Regions from separate parts of the Homo sapiens genome. Here region 2 is linked to region 1. The links are contacts of gene promoters, found by promoter capture Hi-C in human tissues and cell types (Jung and others, 2019). All regions are on one chromosome and are shown on one strand. Each heading gives the region's core, a stretch centred on a gene start or on the middle of the fragment in contact. The rest is flanking DNA. Distances are from core to core; before and after follow the strand shown. Region 1 holds the start of UNC13B (unc-13 homolog B). Region 2 has its middle 41 kb from the start of SPATA31F3.

Region 1 (4,604 bases), core at 1,456-3,955:
GCACAAGTGCAGAACAGAGCAGAGGCAGGAATAAACAAAGTTAGTGCTAGAGCAAAGTCTGCATAAGGATAGGCAAGAATAGAAGGCCACAAGTCTGGAGTCAGAGTATTGAGAGCCTTAAACCTGCAGGCAATAAGGCATGATTAAAGGGCAAGACAAAATAACTGACTTCTTGAATGAAATGTTTAGGAATGATTAATTCAATACCAGTTTGCCAATTTCTACATCAAGTTAACTACTTTTTGAACTCTGCATAGGAAGTTTCTAATTGATTCTACTCCAAGATGAATTGAAATTGAGTTGTAATAAATATCACTATATAGACTGCTTTCAGAATACAACATTCCTACTGCCAAAATACAACGCAAGGAATGTCATTTTAGAAAGATGTATTTTGTGCTGGGTGCAGTGGATTATGCCTCTAATCCCAGCACTTTGGAAGGCCAAGGCAGATGGATCACTTGAGGTCAGAAGTTCAAGACCAGCCTAGCCAACACAGTGAAACTCTGTCTCTACAAAAAATACAAAAATTAGCCGGGCCTGGTGGTTCACTCCTGTAATTCCAGCTGCTCGGGAGGCTGAGGCATGAGAATCACTTGAACCCAGGAGGTGGAGGTTGCAGTGAGCCAAGATCGCAGCACTGCACTCCAGCCTGGGTGACAGAATGAGACTCTGTCTCAAAAAAAGAAAAAGAAATAAAAATAAAGATGTATTTCAATTCATTTCTGTAAGTTTTCCCAAAATGAATACTTTGCCATTCAATATGAATATCTGCATATAAGGTACCTGTTTGTTTCAGTATTTAAAATCTTCTAGATCTCTATTCAAAAAGACAATGGCCTGCTGATCTCGTTTCTCCAGATTCAAAAAAGAAGAAACTTCACTAAAGTAACATTAAAAAGGAAAGAAGTTAGCTAAATAGCAGAATTTCTAGACAATGAAACCTGCCTGCTATTAAAACAAATGAAAACACCAGTAGTTATATAAATTCAGTTAAATAGGAATTTCTGATTCACGAGTGCTCCTGCCTAAAGAGTCTTTCATAAGGACCAGCTCTGTAATACAGTGTGGCCGTAGAGAATTAAACTGTCCAAGAGACACAGCAAAGTCCAACCTCTCCCAAATCCTGCTACTCAGCAGCAGGGATCTAAAGGAATAAATAGATTCCCAGCTGCTGAGAGAAAATGTCTTACTAAAAGCAAAGCAAAATTCTCATTAATGAAAAATCAACCATGAAAGAAGAAAAACTGTATATCTCATAATCCCGGGAAATGGCCAAATCCATTTTGGTTAATGCAGATTCAACAAAATAGTGGAAGAGAACAGAGCAAAGCAGTTTCATCTGCCAGTAGCTGGGGGAAACATCGTTATTGGAGAAATCACAAACAACAACAATGCTTCTAATCTGTAGAGCCAAAAGAAATATGAACTCTCCAGTAAAAGATATCAGGTAAAGGCTCTAGTTGATAAATGCTCTCTCATTCATAATCAAGACACATCAGATATGATAGGCTGTAACCTGAATTTCCCGAGATCAAATTCAATGGCTAATCCAAACCCTGTGTTTTCCTGATCAGATAATCTCTCTGAAGTCACAGTACTTGCATTCATTCAAAACCAGCATTAAGCTTCTACTACGTCAGACACCAGGAATACAAAAACTAATAAGAAACAGTCTCTACCCACATAGAACTTAGTTCGCGTACCATGCCTCATCTTAAACCCCAAAGCTCTTGCTTTAAGATATCTTCTTAGATGGGTCAAGTGTCCTCAGGGGAAAAGCAATAATGGCCCTTCACCTTGAGTTACTGTGAGGCAAGCTAAAATAAAAATAAAAATAAATCATACCTCTTATCCTCAAAAGCAGTCACCACATCCTCCCAAGTGGAACAGAAGAATAATCTTAGCCTATACTACCGGTTAGTGTTCAGGGAAGTGGCAGGGGACAAGACAAGCAATAGAAGGGATGTGACAGCTGTACCACTAACGCATTCAAAGTGTGATAAAAAGAACCTGCTACTAAGCATACTGTAGCGTTACGGTGCGAGGAGGAGGAAAAGAATGAGAGGCTGCCCACCATTCACAGGCACCAACCATCCGCGGTCTTCTAACTCGTCCACTCTCACTAGAGAACCCCAGTCACTGTTTAATAGGATCTGAGCCTGCAGTCCAACAACATTGTCACATGGCTACCAGAATGGAGAGCTAATCGTCCCTTGCAGGAGCTTGGGGGAAAACAAGAAAGTGGAAAGAACTCAAGTGATTGTTAAGTGATTGCCAAAATAATAGACCCCCAAAGCACGGACGGGATGTAAAGTTTGGGTGAGACGGTCACCGGACGTCCACTGGAAGGGTGCGGGGACCTCTACGCCGACACCCCGCCTCCCCGCCTCAGTCCGCGCACTCACCGCGCACGCAGAGCAGTGACATGGCCGAGGATCGGGCAAGCCTCTGCCGCGCCCCAGCCGCGCCGGACCGCTCCCTCTTTCCTCTCAGCAGGTGCCGCGACTGCTCTCGTTACCGGCCCCACGGGTCTGGCAGCTCCTCATGGTCCCGGTCGCAGGTAGCGTCCCGCCGCTGCCTCGGACCCGCCCCAAATCTCACCGTCTGAGCGAACTCCGGGTAGCGGTGAGTACCGGCCGGCAGGCTGGGGACTGGGCGCGGCACAGCGACGCCATCGCTGGGAGGTAGGAGCTGCCGGGACTCCCTCCCGTCATTCCACCCGGGATCCGCGCGAGCGCCTGGGCGGAGCCAACCCGTGGTGCCCCGCCCCCCAGCCAATTAACTCACGCCCAGTCCACCGACCCCGCCCCCCCCCGCGAGCACGTAGGAGGCGGGGTCCCCTTCCTCCTTTCTTTCTTGCGATCCTGAAGGAAGCTCCGCCCACTAATCAGGCTTACTGCAGGGAGCAAGGGGTTGACCCTCAGTTGTGTGACGCGAGAATGGAAGCCCTCTGTTCCTCCTGCATGAGCGGGGCTTCCACCCAAGAACAGATTCTTTTCATTGAAGGATTTCCACTGGACTTTCTTAGAGTCTAGCGGTCATAGCTGACAGCCTGTAATTTTAAGTTAACGAAGTCGCACCGCACAGCAAAGTTAAGTTTTGTTTAGCAACTAGGGCAAAAGACAAAACTGAGTGGGCATAAAGTATGTCTGGAGACCTCAGTTCTTATCTAGACCGTTTTTTATGCTCATCATTGTATCTCCAATGTCTGGAATAGTGCCTAGTGTATGGTAATCAGTCCGTAAATATTTACTGAATGAAGGATGGTAACCACGGAGGGATTGTGAGTGGAGATACCTCTGATCTTTGACAAATCTCCTATCCATGCTTGGTACCAACATGAGCTAACTCCATGGCTCAAACCAACAGGACAATTTGCTAAGGTCTAGGAGCACCCCCTCCAGAGAATCCCTGATCTCCCAAAATTTGGTCGAGATCTAAAGTTCATTTTGTTGTACAACTCCCTCTATTATTATTATTATTATTATTATTATTATTATTATTTTGGAGTTTTACTTGCTTCCAACAAGGAAGGCAAGTTTTCCTGCTTCCATGACGAGGGAAGGCAGGTAACTCTTTTATGGAGTTTGAGCTCACTTCCAACAGGGAAGATGAGGGGTTTTTTTCCTACTTCTGGGATGGTAGACAGCCGTTTTCAGCCTGAGACGCACCCCTAGGTAAGTAGCTGAATAGGGATTTTTGTCTTGGCTAAAGTTAACAACCAGCTGGTCTTAATTTCTGCTTACCATTAGAGTGCTCAGTGATCATATTGTTGGGTTTTTTTTTATTTTGTTTGTCTTTTTCCCATTGACCAACTCTACTTCACTTGGTCAAATCCAAGTGAGAATTCCAAATTATGGGTAACAAGGCCTATCTAATTTGAGTAAAATTCCTCACAGCTGCAAAAGAAAAAACAAACAGAAAACAAAAAACCATGTATTTGGTTTCTGTGTTTGCTTCCTGGTCTTAAAAATTAAACTGTTCTTAGGCCGGGCGCGGTGGCTCACACCTGTAATCCTAGCACTTTGGGAGGCCGAGGCGGGCGGATCACGAGGTCAGGAGTTCAAGGCCAGCCTGGCCAACATAGTGAAACCCTGTCTCTACTGAAAATACAAAAAAAATTAGCCGGGCATGGTGGCGGGTGCCTGTAATCCCAGCTACTCGGGAGGCTGAGGCAGGAGAATTGCTTGAACCAGGAGGCGCAGGTTGCAGTGAGTGGAGATCGAGCCATTGCACTCCAGCCTGAGCTACAGTGTGAGACTCTGTCTCAAATTAAAAAAAAAAAAAAAAAAAATTCAATTGTTCTTTTGTTTACTTTTCTTCCACCCTATACCTCCTTCACCCTTTGCCATCTGCATTACCAAAAAATCGAGAGAAGGCTTCTAATGACTTGAACCTCTTTAAAGAATTTAGGCCGGGCGCCATGGTTCACGCCTGTAATCCCAGCACTTTGGGAGGCCGAGGTGGGCGGATCACGAGGTCAGGAGTTCGAGACTCAGCCTCGCCAACATGATGAAACCCTGTCTCGACTAAAGATACAAAAAAAGTTAGCCAGGCATGGTGGCACGTGCCTGTAATCCCAGCTACTCAGGAGGCAGAGG
Region 2 (4,604 bases), core at 964-3,463, 310 kb after region 1:
ATGGGGAGGAGTTCCTCACAATGCAACACAACTGCTATACCTGACTGTGGCCAGTCAGTTTTGTTAAGTGGGACCCTGATCCATCCCTTCTCACTGGGTGGTGCCTCCCTGCAGAAATTTTAGCAACTCCAGCCAGGGCTATATGTACAGAACTCTGATCTCTCCCTGGGATAGAGTCCCCATCGGGAGGGGCAGCCACTGTCTTTGTGGTTCAGCCAACTTATTCTTTACAGCCTGCTGGCTCTGGAGAGTCCAGGCAGTCAGTGCAGCACACCTGCTCTGCCAAGGGGCAGCCAGACTGCTTCTTTAAGCAGGTCCCTGATCCCATTCCTCCTGACTGGGTGAGACCTCCCAACAGGGGTCTCCAGACACCTCCTACAGGAGCATTCTGGCTGGCATTAGGTTGGTGCCCCCCTGGGACGGAGCTCCTAGAGGAAGAAGCAGGCTGCCATCTTTGCTGTTTTGCAGCCTTAACTGGTAATACCTCTAGGTGCAGGAGGGACCAAGGCAACTGGGGTCTGGAGTGCACACCCAGCAAACCATAGCAGCCCTACAGAAGAGTGGCCTGACTGTTAAAAGAAAAACAAACAGAAAGCAACAACAACAATAACATCAACAAGAAGACCCCACAATAATCCCACTTAAAGGTCAGCAAACTCAAAGACTGAATGTAGATTAGCCCACAAAGATGAGAAAGAATCAACACAAAAATACTGAAAACTCAAAAAGATAGAGTGCCTCTTCTCCAAATGATCACAACACCTCTCCAGCAAGGGCACAGAACTAGGCTGAGGCTGAGAAGGCTGAAATGACAGAAGTAGGCTTCAGAAGGTGGGTAATGATGAACTTCACTGGGCTAAAGAAGCATGTTCCAACCCAATACAAAGAAGCTAAGAATCATGGTAAAACAATACAGGAACTGATAACCAGAATATCCAGCTTAGAGAGAAACATAGCTGACCTGATAGAGCTAAAAAACACAACACAAGAACTTCATAATGCAATCACAAATATCAACAGCAGAATAGATCAAGCAGAGGAAAGAATCTCAGAGTTTGAAGACTATCTTTCTGAAATAAGACAGGCAGACAAGAATAGAGAAAAAGAATGAAAAGGAATGTATGAAATCTCTGAGAAATATGGGATTATGTAAAAAGACTGAACCTATGACTGATTAGGGTACCTGAAAGAGACAAGGAGAAGGAAAACAAGTCAGAAAACATGCTTCAGGATATCATCCAGGAGAACTTCCCCAACTTAGCAAGACAGGCCAACATTCAAATTCAGGAAGTCCAGAGAACCCCAGTAAGATACTCCACAAGATCAACCCCAAGACACATAATCATCAGATTCTCCAGGGTTTAAATGAAAGAAAAAATGCTAAGAGCAGCCAGAAGGAAAGGCCAGGTCATCTACAAAGGAAGTCCACCAGGCTAACAGTGGACCTCTCAGTGGAAACACTATAAGCCAGAAGAGATTGGGGGCCAATATTCAACATTCTTAAAGAAAAGAATTTCTAACCCAGAATTTAATATCCAGCCAAACTAAGCTTCATAAGCAAAGGAGAAATAAGATCCTTTTCAGGACAAGCAAATGTTAAGGGAATTCGTCACCACCAGGCCTGCCTTGCAAGAGCTCTTGAAATAAGCACTACATAGGGAAAGGAAAAACTGTTACCAGCCACTAAAGAAGCACACTGAAGTACACAGATCAATGACACTATTAAGCAACCACACAAACAAGTCTGCAAAATAACTAGCTAGCATCATGATGACAGGATCAAATTCACACATAACAATGTTAATCTTAAATGTAAATGGGTTAAATGCCCCAATTAAAAGATACAGAATGGCAAGCTGGATAAAGAGCCAAGCCCCATTGGTATGCTGTCTTCAAGAGACCCATCTAATGTGCAAAGACACACATAGGCTCAAAATAAAAGGATGGGGGAAATTTTACCAAGCAAATGGAAAACAGAAAAAACCAGGGTCATAATCCTAGTTTCTGACAAAACAGACTTTAAACCAACAAAGATCAAAAAAGCCAAAGAAGGGTATTACATATGGTAAAGCATTCAATTCAACAAGAAGAGCTAACTATCCTAAATATACATACACCAATACAGGAGCACTCAAATTCACAAAACAAGTTCTTAGAGACCTTCAAAGAGACTTAGACTCCCACACAATAATAGTGGGAGATTTTAACATCCCACTGACAATATTAGACCGATCATCAAGACAGAAAATTAACAAAGATATTCAGGACCTGAACTCAGCTTTGGATAAAGTGGACCTGATCGATATCTACAGAACTCTTTACCCAAAAATGACAGGATATATATTCTTCTCATTGCCACATGGCACCTACTCTAAAATTGAAAACATAATTAGAAGAAAAATACTTCTCAGCAAATGCAAAATAACTGACATAATAACAAACAGTCTCCCATACTACAGCATAATAAAATTAGAACTCAAGTTTAAGAAACTCACTCAAAGCCACACAACTTCATGGAAATTGACAACCTGCTCCTGAATGATTCGTAGGTAAATAATGAAATTAAGGCAAAAATCAAGAAGTTATTTTTGAAACTAATGAGAACAAAGAAACAATGTACCAGAATCTCTGGGACACAGCTAAAGCAGTGTTAAGAGGGAAATTTATAGTACTAAATGCCCACATCAAAAAGCTAGAAAGATCTCAAATCAACAACCTAGCATAACAACTAAAAGAACTAGAGAACCAAGAGCAAACAAATCCCAAAGCTAGCAGAAGACAAGAAATAACCAAGATCAGAAAAGAACTGAAGGAGACAGAGACACAAAAAAACTCTTCAAAAAAGCAACGAATCTGGAAGCTGATTTTTTTTGAAAAAAAAAAAAAAATAGATAGACTGCTAGCTAGACTAATAAAGAAAAGAGAGAACCAAATAGACACAATCAGAAATGATAAAGGAGATATCACCACTGACCCCACAGAAATACAAACAACCATCAGAGAATACTATAAACACCTCTATGCACATAAACTAGAAGATCTAGAAGAAATGGATAAATTCCTGGACACATACAGCCTCCCAAGACTAAATTAGGAGGAAACTGAATCCCTAAAAAGACCAATAACAAGTTCTAAAATTGAGGCAGTAACAAATAGCCTAGCAACCAAAAAAGCTCAGGACCAGACAGATTTACAGCTGAATCCTACCAGAGGTACAAAGAAGAGCTGGTGCCATTTCTTTTTTTTTTTTTTTTTTTGAGACGGAGTCTCGCTCTGTCACCCAGGCTGGAGTGCAGTGGCGGGATCTCGGCTCACTGCAAGCTCCACCTCCCGGGTTCACGCCATTCTCCTGCCTCAGCCTCCCAAGTAGCTGGGACTACAGGCACCCGCCACTACGCCCGGCTAATTTTTTGTATTTTTAGTAGAGACGGGGTTTCACCGTTTTAGCTGGGATGGTCTCGATCTCCTGACCTCGTGATCCGCCCACCTCGGCCTCCCAAAGTGCTGGGATTACAGGCGTGAGCCACCGCGCCCGGCCGAGCTGGTGCCATTTCTATTGAATCTATTCCAAACAATTGAAAAGAAGGGACTCCTCCCTAACTCGTTTTATGAGGCCATCACCATCCTGATACCAAAACCTGGCAGAGACAAAACAAAAAAAGAAAACTTTAGGCCAATATCCCCAATGAACGTCAACGCAAAAATCCTTAATAAGATACTGGCAAGCCAAATCCAGCAGCACATCAAAAAGCTTATCCACCATGGTCATGTTGGCTTCATCCCCAGGATGCAAGGTCAGTTCAAAATACACAAATTAATAAATTTAATTCATCACATAAACAGAACTAAAGACAAAAATCACATGATTATCTCAACAGATGCAGAAAAGGCCTTTGATAAAATTCAACATCTCTTCATGTTAAAAACTCTCAATAAACTAGGTACTGAAGGAACATACCTCAAAATAATAACAGCCATATATGACAAACCCACAGCCAATATTAGGCTGAATGGGCAAAAGCTGGAAGCATTCCCTTTGAAAACCAGCACAAGACAAGGATGCCCTCTCTCACCATTCAGATATCACAGGTAAAGGGGTATAAAGCTTATTTAAATAAATAATAGGAGAAAACTTTCCAAGCCTAGGGAAATATGTAACTATCCAGGTACAGAGCTGGGTGTGGTGGGGCACACCTGTAATTCCAGCTACTCAAAAGGATCAATTGAGCCAAGGAGGTCAAGACCATCTGGGCAACACAGTGAGACTCCAACTCAAAAAATACACATGTACAGGAAAGCCAAAGGTCTCCAGTCAGATTCAATCTAAACAAGTACATACAAAAACATATCATAATGAAACTGTTAAAAAACAAAACAAAGACAGGATTCTGAAAGCAGCAAGAGAAAGGAAGCATAGCACATATGTGAGTTTCAATAAGGCTAATAGCAGACTTCTCAGCAGAAACTTTATAGGCTAGAAGACAGTGGGATGATATATTCAAAGTGCTCAAGGAAAAGAAACTGACAATGAACTATACTTTGCTCAGCAAAGCTGTCCATTAGAAATTAAGGAGAGATAAAGACTTTCCCAGACAAACAAAAGC

The links. Contacts are between HindIII fragments. The study calls those that stand out against the background at their distance.
Region 2: a contact is called between a fragment that was not itself captured here and the fragment with the promoter of UNC13B in region 1, in 1 of the 25 tissues and cell types used here (bladder).

Annotation. Positions count from the first base shown.
Region 1 is chr9:35,160,110-35,164,713 of GRCh38, reverse strand. UNC13B (unc-13 homolog B) reads right to left here and starts at 2,705. Exons shown (of 40, transcript NM_001371189.2): 1 at 2,409-2,705. The coding sequence starts at 2,430. RefSeq lists a silencer at 2,710-2,839. The HindIII fragment of the contact is 10,387 bases long and covers 1-4,604 here.
Region 2 is chr9:34,852,481-34,857,084 of GRCh38, reverse strand. It overlaps a transcript of PHF24 not described here. Among named protein-coding and RNA genes, the nearest start is that of SPATA31F3, 41 kb to the left of the region's middle. The HindIII fragment of the contact is 5,500 bases long and covers 1-4,604 here.